2 separate regions of the Homo sapiens genome follow, and region 2 is linked to region 1. The links are contacts of gene promoters, found by promoter capture Hi-C in blood cells and fetal thymus (Javierre and others, 2016). All regions are on one chromosome and are shown on one strand. Each heading gives the region's core, a stretch centred on a gene start or on the middle of the fragment in contact. The rest is flanking DNA. Distances are from core to core; before and after follow the strand shown. Region 1 holds the start of PRELP (proline and arginine rich end leucine rich repeat protein). Region 2 overlaps PPFIA4 (PPFI scaffold protein A4).

Region 1 (5,184 bases), core at 1,946-4,445:
CCACTGGTGTCCCTGAGACTCTAGGAGAGTAGAGGAGGCTCTTCCTGGAGGATCCACATAGTCCCAGGGTGCATGAAGCCAGTGAATCACAAAATACTCCCCTGCCATTGCTGCCAATGATCCTTGTGTTATCTTGGGTATACCCTGGGAGGGAGATGGGGCAGATGAGAAAACCAAGGCTCGTGTGCTGAGACCTACTCACCAGGTAGCTAGAGAACAGCAGAGTTGACATCTTAATCCAGGTTTCCTAACCCCAAACCTTATACTCTCTCTTCACAGTATTGTTGGAAGAGCACTGAGAGGTCATTTGGTACAACCTCGTGTTTTATAAATGGCAAACTGAGGTCAGAGAGGGAGAGAGACATCTTCAAGGTCACACAGCATGCAATGGGGCAAAGCCAGGTCCCAAGAACCTGGACCCCTGTCTACCAGGATGGCGACTGTGTTGAACTGGGAAGTGCTTGTCCTGACTAAAGGTGTTCAAATCCTTTTTTTTTTTTTTAACCAATGCTTCAAAATATACCAGTAGGGTTTGTGGGAGTGGGGAACACAGAAGAAACAAGATTGGCCATGAGTCGGTAATTGTTGAAGCTAGGTATTAGATAATGGGGATATTAATACTATACTGTGTAAATATGTATACGTTTTAAAATTTCCACAAAACTTTTAAAAAATTAACGTGCTGTCAAAAAAAATTAGGTACTCAAGCCATATTAGGTCCACAAGCCACTGATTAGCAAACTCTATTCTGGACACTCCTGAATATCCTGCTGGCCATGTCTATACTTCTTTCCAATTCTCTCTGCATAGCGTGGGATGCGGGAGATAGGAGAGGGAGGAAGGGAGATAACTGGCTTAGGCAGGGCTTGGAAGTTGGCCATCCATTCCCGAGAGCATAGACTCTTGGGATTTGGATGGCTGTCATACAAATGGATACAGGTGACACCCCTGCCCCTGCCCATACTCCACACTCCTTCCAGTCTGTCTATCCCCACAGACACTCTACCCATCATCCCTGTACCTCACTGTACTTTGCTCACCTTATTATTTTTTGAGACAGGGTCTTGCTCTGTGACCCAGGCTGGAGGGCACTGGCGTAATCATAGCTCATTACAGCCTTGGTCTCCTGGCCTCAAATAATCCTCTCACCTCAGTCTCCTAAGTAGCTGGGACTTCAGGTACACACCACCACACCCAGCTAATTTTTAAATTATTTGTACAAACAGGGTCCCCCCATATGGCCCAGGCTGGTCTCGAACTCCTGGGCTCCATTAATCTTCTGCCTTCGTCTCCCATAGTGCTGGGATTACAGACATGAGTCTCCGTGCCCAGCCAGTCTTTTTTGCCCTCTATCATCTACCACCCACCATACCAAGGGAAACAAGCAAATCTGGCGTCTGATGTTCCCGGCCTGCAGAAGACGCCATATCCCATCTGGATGAGAAATGAAGCACATGAGCAGCCTGGCAGAGCCACAGTTAATGTGAACCTGGAGAGGAACCGTGCTGTCTTCCAGCAAGACCTCACCAGCAGGGCGTGAAGCCATGAGATCTGGGGTGGAAGGGGGTTGGAGAAAGGTCTGGGTTTTATTTTTCCTTCTCCTTTTCTTAGGCTAATTACCATTCATCGCAATCCCTTTCCTAAACCCTAATATCTTCCCAGTTTATAAAGTGCTCTCACATTTACAATATTTAATCTTCCCAACCCTGTGAGGTCAATATTATCCATATTTTGTAAATGAGGAAACTGAAGGTCCTCATGATCAAGTGATTCACCTAAGACCATAGCTTGTGGGTGGCTGAGCCCAGGGCTGCAGACCCTAATTTTAATGTTCTCTCCTCTACCCCATATTGCGGAGGGCAGGCAGGCAGTCCCCTGTCATGGGGCTCTGCAGCTCTCCATGGAACCAATAATGGAGAAGAAAATTGCGTTGCATTTTCTAAGTAGTCAGCTGGGATGGCAGGAATTTATTTATTTTATTTACTTATTTATTTTTTGAGACAGAGTCACGCTCTTGTTGCCCAGGCTGGAGTGCAGTGGCACGATCTTGGCTCACTGCAAGCTTTGCCTCCCAGGTTCAAGCAATTCTCCTGCCTCAGCCTCCCTAGTAGCTGGGACTACAGATGCCCGCCACCACACCCAGCTAATTTTTTTGTATTTTTAGTACAGACAGGGTTTCACCATGTTGGCCAGGTTGGCCTCAAACTCCTGACCTCAGGTGATCCGCCTGCCTCTGCCTCCCACAGTACTGGGATTACAGGCGTGAGCCACTGTGCCTGGCCATGGCAGGAAATTTTGATGGGCATCTACTTACCTGCAAGTGTGTTGTGCTTTCTTAATTGAGGGGCATTGTTAGAGGATTGTTAGAGGTAGTGGTGTTACTTGACTGGGTCTTCTGGGGTGTTGATGTGCACAGGGGAAATTTGGATTTCCCATCACTTTGTGTGATGACCACACAGCCCCTAAATCTCACCTAAGTGTGATATGGAGAAGCTGAAAGAAGCCACTACATTGTCCACATGAGCTAGGAACAGTGACTTTAGGTCTTACATTAAATCTTAATTCTGCCTTAACTTTGCTGTGCAACTCAGGCCAGACTTCTCCCTCTCTGGTTCTCAGAACAGCCCTGGCAGCCAAACCGAAGTTATCTCCTATGCCAGCCTGAGACTCCACTCCCTTTGCAACCTCCTGGAGAAGATAACTTAGGGAAAGACTGTCACTGCTCAGAGGAAGCATCCCAAACCCCTCACTGGTTTAGGAATTTAACACTACCGAGCAACGGCCCCAGAAGGCAAGGCGATTGTTAGGAGGAATTAAACAGGCTAGTGCTGGACCCAGCCATCCAGTCCTGGCTTACACAGAGGTTGCTTTTCATGCCTTTTCACTCTGTTAATTTGGCTTGTTTTCCAAACATGGGTCAAACAACCCCTCTCCAGAAGCGGCAGCAGCAGAAGGAAATGTTATTAAAAATGAGTCTGTTAGTGGGAATGGTGTGTGGATGAAGTCTTTGGGAGTTTTGGCTGCCAAATAAAGACTTTATTGTCATTCCTCCTTTCCCAAGCTCCCTCCCTCTCTCCTCCCCTCCCCTCCCTCCCTCCTCCCTCCTCTCCTCCCCTCCCTCCCTATGATCTGCCCCTCCCTCCCCCCAAGCTAACCTCCCCACCCCAATAGGATCTGGTGGAAGAAAAGTCAGGCAAACACAAGCACGCACACACCACTGGGAGATCAGATCTTCTAGCTGGCTCTCTGCTGCCACAGCTCCGCCGAAGGGAGGGGGTGGAAGAGGAGGACTAAACTCAGAGCTGAGAGGAGAGGCAGGTGTGTGCAGGTAAGCCCAGTTGGGAGATGGGCAGGAGACTGGGAAGAATCTTTCATCCAGTAAGTTTCCTCCAGCTCTGTCCATTTATTGATCTAGTCTCTATCCTCTCACTCCTTCCTTCCTCCCACCTCTTTCTCCTCTCAAATGAGTTCAAATTTAGTCTTCCTAACTTCTTTCCTATAGCCTCTTCCTTTTCTTTTCATCACTCTGTACCCCTATATTTGCTTACTGCAAAAGTTAAGCTTTCCTGCTGCAGATGTTTGTTGTAGCACAGAGAGCCACGCTGCACAAAGTGTTTCTACAGATCAGGTGTTTCCATAGAAACTGGACTCCAGAACCCATTTCTTTGCACCTTTTGTGTATTGTCACACATTGTGGAAGTCACACACATCACACGGAGGCTGCACGTTCACTACCATCACCCCACACGACCATACAAAATGAAGACATCCTGTCCATTCACCTCTGCCCTCTGCATCTGACATGCAGAGCTAGACCACATCATCACCAGACACCAGCAGACACACACACACATGCATGCACACATGTTCCCTGCATCTTGTCTCTCGCCCTCTCACACACACCTCCCTAGCTGTAAGAGCAAAGATAAAGTACGTTTTCCCACTGAGATGGCAGAGCCAGAAGAAAATCTTGCATCCCAAGTCCAGGCCGAATAGGGAGGAGATAAGCAAGAGCGGGAGCTGGAAGGGTTTCTTCATTATTTAGGGCTTCACTGGGTAGGAGGGAGAGAAAAACGGCTTTTTCCAACCTGCACAGTGTCTTCTCAGCAGCTTTCAATTTCTGTCTCACTGGTCCAAACCACTTGGCTTTTGGAAAGAAAGAAGAAAGCGACCCAGTTCCCAATCCTTGAAGGTCCTAATTCCCAGCTCTGGGGACAGTTCATTTTTTTATTTTTTTTTCCTGCAGGCAGCCAGAAAAATATTTTTCTTTAAAGCCGTTCTGAAATTATTCCAACCATTTAGGTTGGCAAAAGGTCCTGTGGCAGAGGAGAAAAAAAAAAAAAGGCAGCAGTTCCTTAAGCAGTTGGGGAGGGGAAAACTGAAGGGCGGCCCCTCTCCTGCTCCCCTGCTCATTCCTCTCTATTAATAGAGAGGGTCTGTCCCAAGGCAGGCGGGGTGTAGGGAGATCAGGGGTCCCACACACAGCTGATCTTCACAGTCACCTAAGGGCTGGAGAGGGAGGAGTGTGGAGGGCTTACTAAAAATACAGATGTCGGCTCTCACTGCAGATCTACTGAATCGAGACCCAGGAATCTTGTTTTAATACTTCAGGAGATTCTGATGGTCCACCAGGGCTCGAGAATCAGGGGCCTGAGAGAGAGCTTTGCTGTAATTTTTAAGCCCAAGACTCCGGCAGTGTTAGCTGGGCAGAAGGACTGTGTCCTGGAAAAGGAGCACCAGAGTGTCCCAAATAGGCCACCTCTTTTTTGGGGAGTGGGAGTAAACAGGGAAGAGCTGTCTCCCTCTCTCCTCCTTGCAAGCACAAGCAGCCATATATACCACAGAGGAACATTCCAGTAAGAAAGTTCCCCCAAGATGGCTCCACAGAGCTTCTGTTTCCCCTCACCTGTTAATCTGCCTGCCCCAGGACCCCAGGAGCATGTGCTGGGCCCTTCCCCTGACCCTTATAGGTCCCTGCTCCTCCTTCCCAGCAGCCACCTGTCTGGGCTCTCACAGAGGGTGAGCTGAACACTTTCTTCATGCCCCCTCCACCTCCCTAGTGGGCAATCCCATTTATTGGGCATGTGAGTGAAGCATTTCAAGGCTGGAAGGGGCAAAAAGCTGGGAGAAGTCAAGAATCGCAGTGGAACTCCATGGCCCACTGAGGAAGGCAGACTTGCACCT
Region 2 (5,184 bases), core at 675-3,174, 420 kb before region 1:
GCCGCGTGCCTGGCTCCAGTTACGCAGACGGCTGGTGTGTGGGGCAAATCCTTCCCCTTCCCTCCCGTGTCAATGACAGCTGCAGCCCTGGGGTTGAGGCCATCGTCAGCTGCAACAGCTGTGCCCCCCCCCCCGCTTGCCTTGGCCTCCTGGTGGGCAAGAGGTGGGGGCTGGCAGGCAGCCAACAGTCCCTGAGGCCCCACTGAAGTGTGTGTGCGTGTGCCTGGGCGTGCAGGCGTGTGTATCTGGTGGTCGGGCGTGGGGGGTGGGGGAGCTTCACGGGTAAGATGGAATTGGCAGACTTTCTGGAACAAAAGCTGTGGTTCATGGCGGAGACGAGGGAGGGATGACAGGTTAACTGGCCCTTGGGATGGCACCTGGAGTTTTCCGAGAAGCAGCTGTGAGTTCATGCTGTCTGAGTCTGCCTAGGGAGATTAGGGGAGAATGAGGAAAGATATGGGGCAGAAAAATGCCGAGTTTGATCTTTTGGGAAAGTGCAATTATTCGTCATGCTCTGTCCTGAATCCAGGTCCTCTAAATATCATTTAGAGCACTGGGGTATTAGAAGATATAGATGGAGAAAGAGGGAACTCCTAGTCTCAGGGGAAGATTCACTCTGCCCTTAAGAAATCCTCAGTCCGATGGGGGAGTCACAGTCTGAAGGTGCCTCTTTTTCTTTCTCCCCCGACTTCTTTGCTCTTTCTGTTTATAAGAATATAGCAGCTATCCAGGAGCTGAGAGGCTGCAGGAGCCTGAAGGGGAGCTAGGGGGCTTGGGTCATAGAGGATGGGTGTTAGAGTACCTTTCTGTCCCTGGCTCCCTTCCTTCCTTCTCTACTCTTCTGTTCTCCACCCTCCCCTCTTCTGGGCCTTTGTCCGCTGGATAGGTTTGTAGGATGATTTCAGAGAAGCTGCCGCCTCTCAGGGTTGACCAGACTGTCCTGTGATGATCTGAAACTCTGCAGACTGTCTATTCAGGCCTGCTTGGCCTTTCTGTTCTCTGGGTGTAGTCAGCCTTTGAGTTTGTATGGATGGAAACTGATAGCATTTATGTAGTGCTTGCTTTGTGCCAGGCACAGTGCTAAGGGCTTTACATGTATTTTCCTCATTTGATCCTCACAGCTATCTATGAGGTAAGTACTTTACCATCCCTATTTTACAGATGAAGAAACTGAGGCACAGAGAGGTTAAAAAATGTTCCTATGGTTGCACAACTAGTGTTTGGTGGAGATGAGATTCAAACCAAAGCCGTCTCTCTCTGGATTCTCTTCTTAACAGTTAGAGCAGTATTTCTTAGACTGTAATGTGCAAACAAATCACCCAGGGGTCAGCCGGGCACGGTGGCTCACGCTTGTAATCCCAGCACTTTGGGAGGCTGAGGTGGGTGGATTGCTTGAGCTCAGAAGTTCACTACCAGCCTGGGCAACATGGTGAAACCCCGTCTCTACTAAAATACAAAAAATCAGCCGGGCGTGGTGGCGTGCGCTTGTAATCCTAGCTACTCGGGAGTCTGAGGCAGGAGAATTGCTTGAACCTGGGAGGCGGAGGTTGCAGTGAGCCGAGATCACGCCACTGCCCTCCAGCCTGGGTGACAGAGGGAGACTCCATCTCAAAAAACAAACAAACCAAAAACCAAAAACCAAAAAACCACCCAGGGGTCTTGTTAAAATGCAGATGTTGAATCAGTAGGTCTGGTGGTGCGGCCTGAGATTCTGCATTTCCAGCAAGCTCCCAGGAGATGCCAGTGCTGGTGGGTAGAGGTAGGGAGGGTCCTGCTCTGCAGTTATCTGGGTGTCTTATTACGACTCCTTTACCCTCCTCCTTTGCTAAGGACTGGGAGACTTCTCCACTGCCTGGGATGCTGGCCCCGGCAGCTGGCCCTGCCTTTGACAGTGACCCTGAGATCTCCGACGTGGATGAGGATGAGCCAGGGGGTCTGGTGGGCTCTGCGGATGTTGTCTCCCCCAGCGGCCACTCAGATGCCCAGACCCTGGCCATGATGCTGCAGGAGCAGCTGGATGCCATCAATGAGGAAATCAGGTTAGGGCAGGGCTGGAGGGCTTGGGAAGTGCATTGAAGGGCAGGGGGGCCCTTTGTGTTGGAAAAACCCTATATGGGTTTGCCCAACTCTTATAGCTGCAACTTAGAGTACCACAGTTCAGGGACCCTCTGTGGGTCATCAGGCCCGCTGCCAGTGCCGGAGTGAGAGGAGCAGGGCCTCAGTGGACTTCTCAGGCTTCACCTCCCCTCTCAGGGCTTGCGATGTGGCTGGGCTCAGGAGGATGCATGCTGTGTTCCTGCAGCCCTGCAGCTGATCTTAACCACTAAGAGTGTAGCTCCTGCTTACTGAGGCTAGCTCAGGGTGAGAGCTTTGTAAATGTCACTGTCCATCTTACCACAGTGCCTGAGGTAGGCAGCATGATCCCTGTTTTACAGACAAGGGAACAGAAACTCAGAGAGGTTAAGTGACTTGCCCAAAGCCACACAGAAGTGACAGAGCCAGGATTCAAACTCAAGTCTGAACTTGGCCCACTGCACCATGCCTCCTGTCCCTAATAAGGCATCAAACAGAAACAGTGACAGGGAACGTTGTGAAAACCTTCACTTTGTCCTGCCTTTTTAATGAGTTTATTAATGTTAATGACAAACAGCAGGGCAATATCTGAGCTGGAGTGTATCAGAGCTTTATAAGCTGTACAGGACATCCAGTTCAATGGTTCAATGTATTGCACAGACCAGTTACAAAGAAGACACACACACACACACACACACACACACACATACACACACAGAGAGAGAGAGAGAAAGGTACAAACGTAGGACCACCAGCTTTTTATTTTGCAAAGTAAAACATTAATGATAATGACTATCTATTATCGCAATCATTTTGCAAAAGAAAGGACATTTTAACATTCCTGAAGTAAGAAAGACATACTCAGAATAAAGGCGAGTCCTTCTTTGTGAAAGGGAGTGGGCATCTTTACTGGAGCATGTGTGTGTGAGAGAGTGTGTGTGTGTGCGTGTGCATGCACTCCTTGCTGAGTGCCTCCCAGGCACACACGTGTACCATTTTTATTATTTCTCTCATTTTTCTGTGGAACAGGGAAAACCCCACCAGGGGTCAGCATCATTTAAAAGTCCTACACTTGGAAACTGCTGACTTATACCACTTCAGACATAGCATATGTTGGGAAACTGAGGCACAGACAGCAAAATACCTGACTCAAGGCCACCCTATAGTTAGGGGTATGTCAAGAATTCTGATTTTCAGGATGGTTTATGTTCCACTGACGAAAGTGCCTCCTTCCCCAGCAGCTGCTTTTGTTAAACGGAGGGAGTAGGCAAGCTAACAAGAAAGAGATGTGTTTCTAAGCTCCAGTGGGACAGACAAAGCCTGGCGGGTGTACACCGCATGTGGTCCTTGGTGGCGAGTGCAGGCATCGACCCGCACTGCCTCCTGCTGGTCCTGGCTGGGGCTAGTGGTGAGGTCTGGTTTTGCCTCCCTTCCAGGATGATTCAGGAAGAGAAGGAGTCCACGGAGCTCCGCGCGGAGGAGATTGAGACGCGTGTAACCAGTGGCAGCATGGAAGCCCTAAACCTGAAGCAGCTGCGCAAGCGTGGTTCCATCCCCACCTCTCTGACGGCCCTGTCCCTGGCCAGCGCGTCCCCACCACTCAGCGGCCGCTCCACACCTAAGCTCACCTCCCGCAGTGCTGCCCAGGACCTGGACCGAATGGGGGTCATGACCCTGGTGAGAGGCAGCTGAGGAGCAGGCCTGGCATCACTGGACCCTGCACCGGGGGAGGTTTTAAGGGATGGTAGGACTCACGTGCTCTCAGCTGGGCCTGCCATCTTCTTCCCATGGTGTGTGCAGACCCCGACATGTCAGGCCACCAGCCTGTCCTTCTGGGTTTGGGAAGGGCCTAGGTCATATCTTCTTTGCCCTCTCCCTTGGATGAGCCCAGACTGCTTAAGAAACTCACCCACTGCCCTCACCTCTTCCTTTCTTCCAGAGAAATAAGCCCTGGCTTGTTTTTCTAGGCCAGCTTTTTTTTTTTTTTCTGGCGTGATATTCTCTCCGGGCCTGTGTGAGGCACTGAATCCTATCTTCTCATCCTAAGACCACTGGGCTCCCCTGGGGTTGGCTCTAGGGCACCCAGAGGGTGAGTCTGAGCTTACCCATCCCTCTCTCTTGCAGCCCAGTGACTTAAGAAAGCATAGGAGGAAGCTGCTGGTGAGTGCTGCCTGATGGCCCAGGTACTAACGGGTTCACTGCTCCCATGCCCTTTCCTTTCAGCTTCCTCCCCCAGGGCCCTTGAGTCTGAGTCTGAACTCAGAGAGGCACCCAGGGCCTCCCCACTGCATTTCTCCATGCTCCGCCACCTCTTCTGGGCTGGGTAGGCAGGCCCGAGATCTCTCCCTCTATCCCCTGACGGCTCCACTGTCTGTTCAGTCGCCAGTGTCTCGGGAAGAGAACCGAGAGGATAAAGCCACCATAAAATGTGAGACTTCTCCTCCTTCCTCACCCAGGACGCTGCGGCTAGAGAAGCTTGGCCACCCAGCCCTGAGCCAGGAAGAAGGCAAGAGGTAAGTAGAGCAGACCCCACCTCCAGTCTCTCCATCCACAGGGTCCTCTCCTCCCTTCCTCTGCCTCTGCAGGGACCGCATCTCCCCTGTCCCAGTTTCTGAATGTCTTACTTCTCTTTGAAACACCATCAGGGAAGGGAGTTCATGTGTCTCCTTTTCCCCCATCCCAGTTCTGACTTAATAGAAGTTCTTCCTGAGGTCTAACTTCCATCTTTCCTGCTGTCACTTAAGTATGTTTCTTCTTATTCCGCCCCCTTCTGGCTGTCACCCTGTAGTGCCTTGGAGGATCAGGGCAGCAACCCCAGCAGCAGCAACAGCAGCCAGGACTCCCTGCACAAGGGCGCCAAGCGCAAGGGCATCAAGTCGTCCATTGGCCGCCTGTTTGGGAAGAAGGAGAAGGGCAGGCTGATCCAGCTGAGTCGGGATGGAGCCACAGGCCATGGTCTCTGTCCCCTTCCTAACGGAGGTCTGGGCGGGCATTGGGGCATCAGAAGCAGGAAGGTGTACTTGGACTGGCCTTCTCTGCCTGCGTCCCAGGGACCAGTTGGGGGAAGCCCCAGGCAGGTTACCTCAGATCTGCAGAAGCAGTTTTTGGTTA

The links. Contacts are between HindIII fragments. The CHiCAGO score rates a contact against its expected background, and 5 or more counts as called.
Region 2: a contact is called between a fragment that was not itself captured here and the fragment with the promoter of PRELP in region 1, in 1 of 17 cell types (endothelial precursors). The highest score is 6.4, in endothelial precursors.

Annotation. Positions count from the first base shown.
Region 1 is chr1:203,472,611-203,477,794 of GRCh38, forward strand. It overlaps PRELP (proline and arginine rich end leucine rich repeat protein), which reads left to right and starts at 3,196. Exons shown (of 3, transcript NM_002725.4): 1 at 3,196-3,328. The HindIII fragment of the contact is 1,499 bases long and covers 2,061-3,559 here.
Region 2 is chr1:203,051,923-203,057,106 of GRCh38, forward strand. It overlaps PPFIA4 (PPFI scaffold protein A4), which reads left to right. Exons shown (of 30, transcript NM_001304331.2): 15 at 1,831-2,039; 16 at 3,510-3,750; 17 at 4,198-4,233; 18 at 4,453-4,586; 19 at 4,862-5,028. Among named protein-coding and RNA genes, the nearest start is that of PPFIA4, 28 kb to the left of the region's middle. RefSeq lists enhancers at 1-126, 2,627-3,378, 3,379-4,130. The HindIII fragment of the contact is 5,243 bases long and covers 1-4,546 here.